Linked DNA regions of Homo sapiens: region 2 is linked to region 1. Evidence: promoter capture Hi-C in human tissues and cell types (Jung and others, 2019). All regions are on one chromosome and are shown on one strand. The core of a region is centred on a gene start or on the middle of the fragment in contact, and the rest is flanking DNA. Distances in the headings are between cores, read along the strand shown. Region 1 holds the start of TRIM32 (tripartite motif containing 32). Region 2 overlaps ASTN2 (astrotactin 2).

Region 1 (6,595 bases), core at 3,132-5,631:
CTAAATGACGAGTTAATGGGTGCAGCACACCAGCATGGCACATGTATACATAGGTAACTAACCTGCACATTGTGCACATGTACCCTAAAACTTAAAGTATAATAATAATAAAATAAAATAAAAAATAAAAAATAAATTAAAAAAAAAAGTGTGGCTGCCCTAAAATGTTTTTGTCATCCATATACAATTGTTGTCTCGCTTTGGTCCTCTTTAACGGATGGTTTTATAATCAGCTATAAAATTTAACAGGCCCTCTTAAATGCAGGTTTCTGATTAAAAACTCTGGAGACTGTGATATTAGAATCGAGGAAAAACTTTCAAATTGAAGAGTGAATAGTGTTTGGTTTTCTTTGGACTATATTTGTATAAATATGTTATTAGTATGTGTTCCAGAAATTATGGGAAACTTCTATAATTCTGATATGATTTAGAGTACATTATTAATAATTATAATTGTTATATAAAAGTGTTGTATGCCACAGAAGTAACCAAGATTCCTAGTCAATTGCAGCTTTAATAGTAGCTATAGACTTTTGTCATCCATAGACATTTTGTCTTGCTTTTGTCCTTTTCAAAAGGCAGTTTATAATCAGATATCACACTCTGAGTGCAGGTCTCAGATAACTTTAAAAATTGTTTTATTGGAATAGAGGAAAAAATGAAACTTCTAGGCTTCTCACAGATAGCTGATGTGTTAAGCATTGCTAATCCTCTCATTTTCAGAGTCAAGATAGCATATTTCTTTAGAGTTATTTGCAACTTTTAACAAATGAGTAAAAAATACTTCCATGAAAAAAATTTAGAGCATATTTGTTTCTCTCTACCTGATTTCTCCTGAATATGGAAACTATTTGTAAGTATTCTCAATTTATGCCAGTATACTTAATTGCATAAGTGCAGTAAGAATCTGTTTTTGTCTTGTAACAGGACACAACTGGAGAAATTGATTATTTTACCAAGGCTTTTACTGGAATGGCATGCTTCCTTCAAAGAATCAAAATTAATGTATAGAGCCAATTAAAGCCCCCTGGGGAATCTAACCTCAGACCTTGTCTATAGTCCCTGTACAAGGTTCTGTCATACAGTCCCTGTACAAGGTTCCTGACCTGTGGTAAGTAAAGAATGTCACTTTCTAACAGGCCCAGGAACCCCAAGTTATTTTGGGACCTTGAGAAGAGAGGAATTTACCCAACTCATAGGTATTTGAGGATACAAACCCATGGCTGAGCTTGGCTTTTAAAAACTCTTATCTGAGATTCCTCATGGAACAGAGTTCCATCAAAGCTAATTTAAACAAAAAAGACCCTAAGTGAAAAATAATTATTCTTGCTGCACTTTATGCAAATAATCAGGCCAAGTATAGTAAGACTAAAGTACATTTCTGTAAACAAATCAGTTCTATCATGATTTGTTTTTAATAAAAATGGGGTCTGGAGAGAGAGAAATTATGCTTCAAGAGGAAACCTATTGTTAGCTGTTGTTAGCTGTCCTTGAGTTTTTTCTACAATTTTGACTAAATCCTAAATTATTTGTGGGTTGGAAGTCGCCAGACTAATGCTTTCAAATCTTTGCTTTTAAAATTGAGTATTGTACTCCTCATCCTAGGACTCATTATTTACCTTATAGTAGGCTGTTCACCTAAATACTGTACTAAAACTATAGATGAGAGTACTAATGTTTTTGCCATGCAAGCCTTAGAAGCCCAGCCAGACCTGCATGAGTCGCTCAGACACTTGAAAGTGGTCCCACTCTTCTCACCTTGGGGTTGACTCCCATTCCCACTACGTCCCCTGTCAGCAAGAAGAACCCAGAGCAATCGACAGCCTTTTCCCATCTTCATACCCTACACTTTAAGATTAAGGTGTTACAAAACCCAAAGTGATGGACTGAAACTGCCTTTGCAAAATTATGATTGAGACAGTAAAAGAGATCTAACTTAACTGACTCCATCTTGCTTCTAACTTCCAAGCTGTCCTTGTTCATTCCTGGGCATAGGCTGAACTAACTTTGGGAGAAATTTAGTCTGTAGTTCATAGTTTAAACAAAGACAGTAACAACCCTATCCCAAAGCAGACCTCCTTGCCTGGGTACTAGATTGCCTTTGTAGGACTAACATTAGCCACAAGATTAGAAATTGCGGTTTAGGAGTCATGCAGCTGGAGGTTACAAGATGCTGAGCCTCCCTAAAATGCTTCTGAGATCAGTGCTTGAGATATTTTGCAGACCCTGCACTTGATGGATCAGCTGGCACCACCCAGATCAATAAACTCACTCATCTGATCTTGTGGCCCCCCCACTCAGGAACTGACTCACTGCAAGGAGACAGCTTCGACTCCCTATGATTTCATCCCTGACCAACAGCGCTCCTGGCTCACTGGCTTCCCCCAACCCACCAAGTTATCCTTAAAATCTCTGTTCCCCAAATGCTCAGGGAGATGACTTGAGTAATCATAAAACTCCAGTCTCCCGCACAGCTGACTCTGCGTGAATTACTCTTTAACTATTGCAATTCCCCTGTCTTGATGAATCAGCTCTGTCTAGGCAGTGGGCAAGGTAAACTCCTCAGGTGGTTCCACTGATATAGGTGATTTAAGTGTTAAATAAAAATCTGTTACATTAAAATGCTGAATAAAGAGTGTTTAAAGCACTCCACAAAGATTATTTTTTAAATGCCTCTGTGTAAGAGGAATTCTAATATTGTGCCAGGATATGTCAAGCTATAAGATAAAAATTGAGTGCATTTCCTAGAATGCTTATTCTACTCTAAGATTTTGTGAGAGGTATAATAATTCATTTAACTGGTAATAAACATTAAAGAAGAGTCAAACACTGATTTTTGTTTTAAGGGAGAAGAGAGATTTTTTTTTTTCAAGACACTTGCTTGAGCTAGATCCCCAGGAGTATTTTTAACACTCCTCTGTAATTAGGGAAACATCAGTATGTCTGTATTGATACATATACACACATATATAATATGTATATATGTAAGACTATGAACAGTCCTAAATTTATACTTTGGGCTGATAACTGTGGTTTTCAGGAAAAAAAAAAATTTTAAACGGGTGCAAAGTCTCCCCAACTGGTCTAAGTGAGAAATCATTTGGCATTACCTCTCCCTTATCCCCTACCTGCTAATTACAATTTTTCAAATATAGTTATCATTAAGTGCAAACTACCATAATCTTGGCTTATCTTCATGGCAAACTTCAATTAGAAATTTAGAAAATGGGGAGAAAGAGTAAACAAGGTTAAGAGAGTGGGTTCTCAGATAGAATTGGGTACAAATTTGGGCTCCAACACTTAGGTATATGTGGCCTTGTGTAACCACCTAGGTTACACAACAGGTGTAGGTTAACCATCAGCTGCCTTATCTCATTAGGTCCTTATGAGGATTTAGTGAGCTATGCACCTGAAGTCCTCAGCTGTAGCCAGACAGCAAGTGTTCAAAGATGTTAGTCATTGTTTTTGTTTATTGTTTTATCATTGTGCAGGGTCACATAGCTAAGGGGAATTTCAAATCCAAGTCCATCCTACTTCAAACTCCTTTGTGCTCCTAAGCTGTACAGTATAGTCACCTTGGAGAGTAGGTGATTGGCCCCAAACTACTTCAGGGACTGCAGGTCGTGGCCAGCCAGTCCTGTATCAGACCTCGTCCTTGCCAGATGCCTAGTGCCCCAGATTCCCTCAAATCTCAGGCCAGATCACCTCCCACCTGGTAAGATTCCTCCACCTTCACCCGAGCAAAACTACACTTGGTTTGGGTTCCCGGGTACCTTCAGTCTGCAGGGACAGGGGCTGCAGAGTGTACTCCCCAAGTCTGCCTCTGCTGTCGGCCTCCCAGCTGAGTAGGCAAAACATTCCTTTACAGAGCAATGTGTTCATGGATAAACTTGTCTCTAGTGCAGCTCTCTGTCAGAGCACAGAACATGAGGCCAAAGCACTGCCCTTCCTAGGGAGTCCCGGTTCTCGACTTCCCCAGAATGGAAGTTTGATTTTTCCGTTGGCCCATTTCTCAGATGGAAAAACAGATTCAGTAAGGTGCCAACGCTTTGCTGAGGACTACCCTGGAGGCTACCGTTTTGTGAAGGGGTAGACATTGAGACTGGAGTCAGATACGCATTCTGGCTTATCTCCTGACTTACTGAGTGAACTTGAGCAGGTCCCTTTCGCCCATGGGCGTCGGTTTCTTCATCTGCACCAAGGAGACGGAAAACTGGATTACGTGTCGCTAAGGCCCCGGGTTCTCAGAGGAAAGCTCACCCCTGCAGGGCCGCCTTGCCCCGCGCGCTTGGGGCCAGCTGCACGACAAGCCCCAGCATGCTGGGGAGGCGGGGCTCAGTGACGGACAGGGAGCTCTGCGAATTGGCGCCCGGCAAGGGGTGCTCAACGGCGCGTGCGCAGAGGGAGGCAGGCGGGTGGGCTGCCGGCGGTGGACTCGTCGGAGCCGCGGGCGGTCAGGTAGGGGGCGGGAAGGAGGGTTGGGGACTGGGGACCGCGGCCGGAGTCGTGGGCCGTGGCTCAGCGGCCAGGCGGGGGAACGTGCCGGCGTGCAGCGGCCGCGCCCGAATGGCAGGGTGTGGGGACCGGATCTGGGGGGGGCAGGACTAGGGTGGGGGTGGGGCTGCGAGGGGCAGGCTCGGGAGGGATTCGTGGGGCTGAGGAGATCCGAGGAGATGCAGCTGGGGGAGGGGAGCGAGGGGCTCTGAAGAGATTTGCGGTTGCAGCATCTCGGGAGGTATGAGGTAATGTCGGGGCCCTGAGGAGGAACGGGGTGTAGCATGTGGGAGATGGGAGGGAATCAGGGCCCTGGAGGGACCTGGGTGCAGAATTTCAGAAATATGAAGGAACTGGGGGGCCCCGATGAGATTTGAGGAAATCTGGGGGCGCTAGGCATCTGGCAAGGACAGGGTCTGAGATGATAGGAGCAAGGTCTAGGGCGATCCTAAGTGCTATTGAGAAAGGGTTTTCGGAGTGGGCTGAGGGTGAGATTGAGGGGGTGGGGTGAGTTCTTGAGGGACTCTATCTTGTTAGCAGAAAGAAGGGAGCTGGCTGAGGTGTGAAGGCAGCACATGACATTCAGTGCATAAGAGGAAGGAGCAGGGTATGAGGGCAGCACAGTGCCCGATGGAATGCAGGAGATGGGGGCTCAGATTGAGGGAGAGCAGAAATCTGGGGTGAGGAATTGGGGCGTTGAACTGAGGTGCGGGGCTGAGTGTGGCAGAGATTTGGAAATAGGGATTAAACGATCTGAGTCCGAGGGATTTGGGGCATATGAGTGAGGAATTGACGAGGGTTGCAATATACAGCCCCAAAGATTGGAATTTGGAATTGTAAGAGGGTTGGGGACAGGGTTTGGAGAGGATTGAATCGTGGGGTGGAGATGTCCTAACTGGGCTATAAAATCAAAGGACCCTGAGTAGATTTGTGGATTGGTGTCTTGGGCTGCTAAAGAGATTTTCCTTAAATCGCTGCATGGGAGACAGAGGGAGTTCAGGGGACCCAAGGACCTAAAAGTAATGTATGAAACTGGATGAGTATATGAAGATGAGCAGAGTTCAGGTGCTGAGGAACAAAGTGATAAATCTTCAGTTCAGATAATCCTGAAGGAGTGTGGTAATCCCTGTGAAGGGCAGAATCTTCTTCATTTATTAAACAAAGATCCGTTATCATGAGGCAGGTATGGTATTGCCACTAACTCCATTCTGACCACCGGTCCCCCGGCCCACTGAAAGTGGTAGGCTTTGGGGAAGAAGAAGTGGAACTATTCAAGGTCATCTGCCTAAGCCCTTTTTCCCTGTACCCCCAAGCTACGATAGCAGATAGAAAGTGAGACCTCCAGGGGAATGAGTGGAATAATTTATCCTATATAAGATCCATTACAGCTTGAAGGGGCAGTGGCTCTGTGAGTGAGGTGTTTGGGCTCGGAGACAGACAAAACAACAACAACAACCACCAGAAAAAAAAAAGGGAACCCTTAGGTATTGAGCATTTAGTCCTGTGCTAGACTGTAAAGCAGTGGTTCTTAACCAAGTCTGGCTTTGTCTCCTAGGAGACATTAGGCAATGTCTGGAGATGTTTTTTGGTTGTCACAGGGTGGGGGATACTACTGGCCTCAAGTGGGTAGATTAAACATTAAACATAATGTTTTATGTTAAACATTTGACAATGTGTGGGATACGCCCTTCCCCCCCGCAGTAAGGAATTATCCTGCCTAAAATGTCAGTAATGCCAAAGTTGAGGCACTCTGACCTAGAGTCAGATACCCTGGGTTCAAGTCCTAGCTCTATCTCTTCCTGACTTTAAGTCCTAGCTCTATCTCTTCCTGACTTTGTGGCCTTGAATGAGTTACTTAACCACCCAGTGCCTTGGCTCTTCATCTGTAAAATGGGGTTATGATAACAAGACCAATGTCACAGAATTGTTGTGAGGATTTAGTGAAGTAAACTAGCATGCCTAGGATCTGGCACATAGTAAGTTCTCAAAATCTAGTAATTTTTAGTCTTGTATCTACTTCTTTACTCAGTTTTCATGACAGTCCTTCTAAGTAGGCTCTACTGTATTCAGTTTTACACATGAGGAAACTAAGGCTTAGGAA
Region 2 (6,330 bases), core at 3,589-6,088, 720 kb after region 1:
TTTCTACTAACTGACCAACTGCCAGTCTAAATGGCTTCAAAAACAAGGATTTCTAGGGCAAGGAATTAAAATGAAATGTAGTTAGCCCTCCCCTGAATAGTTTGTCTCCCCACACAAATGAGAAGTTTAACGAAGAAGAAGAGAAGCACTGATTTAGCAATCATGTCAAATGCCATGCCAGAGACACCCACCCCCGACAGGTTGTAATAACTAGTCCCTTTCTAGCTTCTCCTTTGCTGAGTTCAGTTTCTTCTACTTCTCCTGACAGAAGAATCATCATATTCCACACTCTCTGTGTCTCATATGTATCTGCATGTATGTATGTATTTGTGTACATGTACGAATGTTTCTGTTACATATTATGTATATGTGTGTGTGTGTGCATCTTTATGTGTAAATCAAGCAAAGGAAAATAAAAAAAGAAAATTCCCTAAGACCTACAGGAAATCTTGAGATAGTTTCAGGGGCCTGAACATTCTAGGGGTGGTTTGTAAAGCTGGCTTAATGTTAATTATAAGACGGACAGTAAGATTCCTTCAATCACACTACCACCAAAAAATGTGGAAGGAACATTAACCATCTCCTTTCCAATATATTGTACATGGAGAATGGAGGCCGATGCTGTGGTTTGGACATAGTGCCATCCTTCTAAAATGTTTTTTAAATGTCTAAATGCATGTTTTGTTCAGATGAAATTGAAGCTCCAATGTTACAGGCAGCTAAGAGTGGAGCACCTCTGTAACAGAAATCCAGAGCAACTCATACTCCCCTGATCTATCATGGAGGCCAGCTATAGAAACCAGTGCCCTAATGAAAAGACAATTTTATCAATATCTCTGTGCCGCCTGCAAGAAACTTCAGAATGACCTTGGACAAATCTCTTCCCCTCTTTGGCACCAAAGGTGGCTATTCACAAACATATCTATTCCACATTCCCATAAGCATTCCAGCAAACTGTTTGTCATGGCCACCTTTGAGGAATGTGTTTGGGTGGAGGAGAGACTTTCAGGTTTTCCTTTACAATATCTCCGAATTGCATTAATGTGTTACAACAACCTTGTATTCTTTCTGTTAATATTTTTTGAGATGGAGTCTTGCTCTGCCACCCAAGCTGGAATGCAGTGGCACGATCTTGGCTCACTGCAGCCTCCGCCTCCCGGGTTCAAGCAATTCTCCTACCTCAGCCTCCCGAGTAGCTGGGACTACAGACATGCGCTGCCACATCCAGCTAATTTTTTGTATTTTTAGTAGAGATGGGGTTTCACCACATTGGCCAGGATGGTCTTGATCTCCTGAACACCTTGTGATCTGCCCACCTCGGCCTCCCAAAGTGCTGGGATTACAGGCGTGAGCCACCGCGCCTGACCCAAAATGTAAAATTGAGGTTGGAAATACAATAAACACACGTGTACTCTCTGCTGGAGTTACAGATATTAAAGAGAAATGATGTTTAACTTAGAAAGCTTACATACTAACAAGAAAGGCCGACATGCAATCAACAATATTTCTATGAAAATACTGACTGCACTGAATATACGAAATGCTTGGGAAATAACTGTTTTGGGGGGAGCCAGGAAAGTCATCTTAGAAGGAGTGAGGGAATATTCACGCTGGATCTTAAAAGATGGTAGTTATGAGGCAGAAAAGATATTTTTAAAATATATAATATTAAAGATAATCTGACATTTAAGTGAGCAAAATTTGAATTTTAGAGGACTATCTTCGTCTCTGTGCTTGGGTCGATCAACATTTTCCAAGTATTGAACCAGAGATGAATTTAGACGGCACATGAGTGTTTTAACTTCGATAGAGACATACTTACTTTTGCAGGCTATCTTCCATTTACTGAAAGTTATTTTGGTGTTTCATTCATGACAGTGATACAAAGTTTCCTTTTTAAAATAAATACAGCTAATCCCATTACTACTGACCTTATGCAATAAGGGTCTATGAGCACCCTGCTTTTCTATACCACTAGAGATCCAGCACAGGGTCTGGGATGGAAGGACCACTGAAGAATTACTAAAAGGTCTTAACACCAGGCAGAGATGCCAAGGTTTTCGGGTTGAATTGGTTTAGATTAGGAAATGGGAATAAAATTCATCCCCTATGCTAATCCCAATTGACTGGAAGTGATTGATGAGGCATTGCATTGAGAAAGAATCTCAGGCTATCATTAAATGATTGATTAGCAATGTCTGTCATGAATACAGAAGTGGACAGTGGCAGTATGGCCAAACATAATTTCCACTGATTATTCATTTATTCATTCAACAAATATTTATTGAGTATCTACTATATGATGGACACATCTGTAGGCACATGGGATTCTGCAGCAAACCAGACTGGATGATTTCTCCTCTCTCTTGGAGTAGCCTATGCAGCCCAATCTTCCCCTGCTTTCCTGAAAGAGACTTGGCTCTTACAATATTAATCTTCCCTGAGGTCAAAAAAGGACTGCCATTTATTTAAGGTCACACAACAAATCAATGGCAGAAACAGGACTAGACTCCAGGCACTACCTCCAAATTCAACACAGTTGTGTACTTACCAGACTTGAAAAACCTGTTTGGTTTTCCTAGCTCTGTAGCTGCCCTTTCTCAGCCATCAGTCTTTCCACCTGCTGTCCTTTTGTGGGGAGGACAGAACGTCTGTTCCCTCCTGGAAGCAGGGAGGCAAGTGAGTGGGGGCGATTCCCTAGAGGCTTCTGTGGTTTGGAGAGATGGATTAAAGAGGTCAGGACAATAAAAGAGAGAGAGAAAAGAGGGGAGGGAGGGACAGTAGGAACCCTGCCATTGGCAGACCAGTAATTGGTTACTTTGGGCAGTCCCCCTCCCTGGGGAAGGCTAGAGAGAAAGTAATTGAAGAAGATTCCCTGATAAATTAGTGCAAGACTGGGCTTGAAAACTCTAGTCGCACCTGGGTTCAGAGCTGAGTGTTTGATCTTCAGAGGCCCCAGAAAGGATAGAGAAGGAAAGGAGAAAGCTTTAACTGTAACTCCAGCCTCAGAAGTTCCCAGAGGGAACCCTTCTCTCCCTCCTGGGCTCCTAGGATCACTTAGTTTAATCTCATCACATTAGAGATGAGGGAAAGCCTGAAAAGAGGAAGAGACTTGACCACAGACACCCAGCAGAACTGGGACCAAAACCCACGATTCCTAGTTCTAGTCCTCTCCACCATATTACACTGCCTCTGGGTTCCATGAGATCTTTAACCACATGACTTGCTTCGAGTGATCCTAAGCTCTCTCCAGCTGCAAAAGAGGTAGGGAGGGGGCTGGTATTAGGGATTAAGGTACAGGCTTATTTACTTTTGTTTATTTAACGAGCACATAGGTAGCATGTACTAAGTGCCGGGTACTGCTGAACATACTTTATAAACTTTAGCTCCTGGAATCCTCCTCCTAATAAAAAACAGAACAACCTGATGAGGTAGTGATCCATCAGAAGTGGTGTTCACAAACTATCACCCTGATTTCTGCCCATTTTGTCAGGAAATATCTACTCAGAACCTACTATGTGATGTTCCTCAGCTACGTAGCTGAGGGAGCAAAATGATGAACAAGACACACTCCCTGCCTCCAAATACCTGTCAGGTAAAGGCTTTTAAAAATAATTGAGATAGCTGAGAGTGTGGTGTATAAGGGTGCTACTTTGGTCCGGGAAGACTACTTGGAGGAGGTAATATTTGAGTTTTGTGAGCAAGGGAGGAAATGGTAGAAGGCAACTCAGAGAAAAAGGCAAATTATTTAGGATTTTGCAGACACTGAAAAAGAATGAGGATTTTATCCTAAAAACAATGAGAAACAATTGCAGGTCGTAAACAGGGGAGTGGCAAAATATAATTTATTTTTTGGAAGACATCACTCTGGCTACTGTGTAGAGCAGAGGTTGGCAAACGTTTTCTGTAAAGGGCCAGTTAATAAATATTTTAAGCTTTGCAGGCTAGACACTCTCTATTGCCACTGCTTGACTTTGTCATTATAGACCATAAGCAGCCACAGGCAACACATAAACAAAGGAGTGTGGCTGTGTTCCAGTACATTTTTATTTATAGGTACTGACATCTGAATTTCATATGATTGTCACATGTCAACAAATATTATTCTTCTCTTGACTTTTTGTCAACTATTTTTAAAAAGTTAATAGTCTTATGAGCTGAACAAACAAACAAACAAACAAGCAATTGTTTAGATTTGGCCCATGGGCTATATATAGTATGGCATAAAGAAAGGACAGAGAAGGGAGAGGCAGCAGGAAGACCGGTTAGGAGGCTGATATGGGAAAGGATGGCAGCTTGGATGAAGGTGATGCCAGTGGAAACTATGAAAAGTTAATTCTGAAAATCTTTTCCTGTTGTTGTTTTTTTGAGACAGAGTCTTGTTCTGTCACCCAGGCTGGAGTGCAGTGGCACGATTTCAGCTCACTGCAATCTCCACCTCCCAGGTTCAAGAGATTCTCCTGCCCCGGCCTCCTCTGTAGCTGGGATTACAGGCACCTGCCACCACACCTGGATAATTTTTGTGTTTTTAGTAGAGATGGGGTTTCACCATGTTGGCCAGGCTGGTCTCAAACTCCTGACCTAAAGTGATCTGCCTGCCTCCGCCTCCAAAGAGCTGGGATTACAGGCGTGAGCCACTGCACCCTGCCTGAAAATCATTTAAGAAGCAAAACCATCAGGGTTAGCTGACTGAAAGGATGAGAGGCAAGGAAAACGATGAAGAATGACTGCTTAGCTTGAAAAACTAGGCTAATAGTTTGATTTCCTGAGATGGGAAGATGTGGGTAGAGCAGGTTTAGGGGGCAAATCACACATCAATAGTGTGATCCCAGACAAGAAGGAGAGAAACACAGGTTTCCTACGGGCTTCTGAATAAAATAAAGGACGCTCAGTTCACTTTGAATTTCAGATAGTCAGCGAGACATTTTTAGTATAAGTATGTCCAAAATACTGCATGGAACATACTTATACTAAACAAGTATTCATTATTTATCTGAAATTTAAATTTAAGTTGGCATCATGTATTTTTATTTGCTAAACAGAGCAACCCTACATGGAGTGGGGTGGGGTGGTGGTGGTGGTGTGATGGAGGGTATATAGGTCTCCAGGAAAAGAAAACCTAAGCCCAAGAGGAGAAAGAGAAGGCTCCTTAGAGATGACACCCCTTAGAGCAGATGCTAGAGCTAAGTCTAGGAGCTGGCCAGGTGAACGAGGAATACAAAAACAATCTAAACAGAGAGAAGAGAATAAGCATGTTACCCTCAGACATTTGCAAGTAATTAATGAGGCTAGAGCCTCGAGGGAGGAAAGGAACATTGGAGGATGAGGCTGAAGAGCTTCTAACAGGGCTTCACTTCACAGAGGTTTTCTAGGTAAAGGCCAGGGTGTCAATACACTTGCTGAAGTTCAGATTCCCAGGCCTCTCCCCAGGAGCCTCAGCAGGTCTGGCCTTGAGAGCCTGAGGTCTACCGTGATTCTGATGATCAGCTAACTTGAGGAAAGCCTGGGTTAAATAATCTGGGAACTCTTCCACCTACAAATCCTGGGAGCCAAACAAGTTGCTGCTGGCTGTAAAAGTCTTGAAAAGAGTAATTCAGATAATCAGAGGAAAGGAAGCATTGAATAAGTGTGCAGCCTCCCATGGGGACCCTCTAGAATGGAGCTCTGTCCATTTGGAGGACAATAGGGAATCCAGAATGTTTGTCAAAGGACCAGTCCTGCTCCTGAATAGTCACCCTGTCTGGCACCTGGCTCTAATTTGGTGCTATCTCCCAGCTCTGTGCAAGTAGACCAGACGTCTTCCTGTGCCTTCCCCCGATGCCCCACCCCCTTCCCTCCTCCGCCCTCAGCCACCACTGAAATGATTCCCCCAAATGCAGCTATTACTGTGACTGGAAATCTCTTTACTGCTGATTCTGCTAATGGAAATGTTCCTTCCCTTTTCGGCTGCTTGCAAAGCCACTCGTGACTTCCCTGGGTGCATGAGAGCAAGGCTTTGTCAGCCAGCCACCACCAGAAGGGAGAGGATTCTGCCCCGCCTGCTCCCACAACACCCACCTGCCTTAGACTCAGTCTCTAAGAGCTCTTCTGTCCCAACTGTCCTCAAACAACCCCGGAATTCCCTGCTTCCCCCAGCTTCCCCCAGCTCCAAGAGAATGAGCAGACATCAATGGTCAATTTCATCCTTTTTTGCCTTGCTGGGGAGGAGGGGAGGTGGAGAGAGGAGGCATAAGAGGAGCATGAGGGAGTGGAAAGAGGGGGAGGGGAAAGGAAATTTACATTCATTATTGATTCATACCTCCACCTCCTTCCAAAAAAAGGATTCCAGGT

What was found. Contacts are between HindIII fragments. The study calls those that stand out against the background at their distance.
Region 2: a contact is called between a fragment that was not itself captured here and the fragment with the promoter of TRIM32 in region 1, in 1 of the 25 tissues and cell types used here (dorsolateral prefrontal cortex).

What each region holds. Positions count from the first base shown.
Region 1 is chr9:116,682,924-116,689,518 of GRCh38, forward strand. It overlaps TRIM32 (tripartite motif containing 32), which reads left to right and starts at 4,382. Exons shown (of 2, transcript NM_012210.4): 1 at 4,382-4,458. All of the region lies in intron 16 of ASTN2 (astrotactin 2), which reads right to left. RefSeq lists enhancers at 4,049-4,368, 4,809-4,858 and a silencer at 4,439-4,638. The HindIII fragment of the contact is 20,788 bases long and covers 1-6,595 here.
Region 2 is chr9:117,397,717-117,404,046 of GRCh38, forward strand. All of the region lies in intron 1 of ASTN2 (astrotactin 2), which reads right to left. Among named protein-coding and RNA genes, the nearest start is that of ASTN2, 14 kb to the right of the region's middle. The HindIII fragment of the contact is 5,229 bases long and covers 2,225-6,330 here.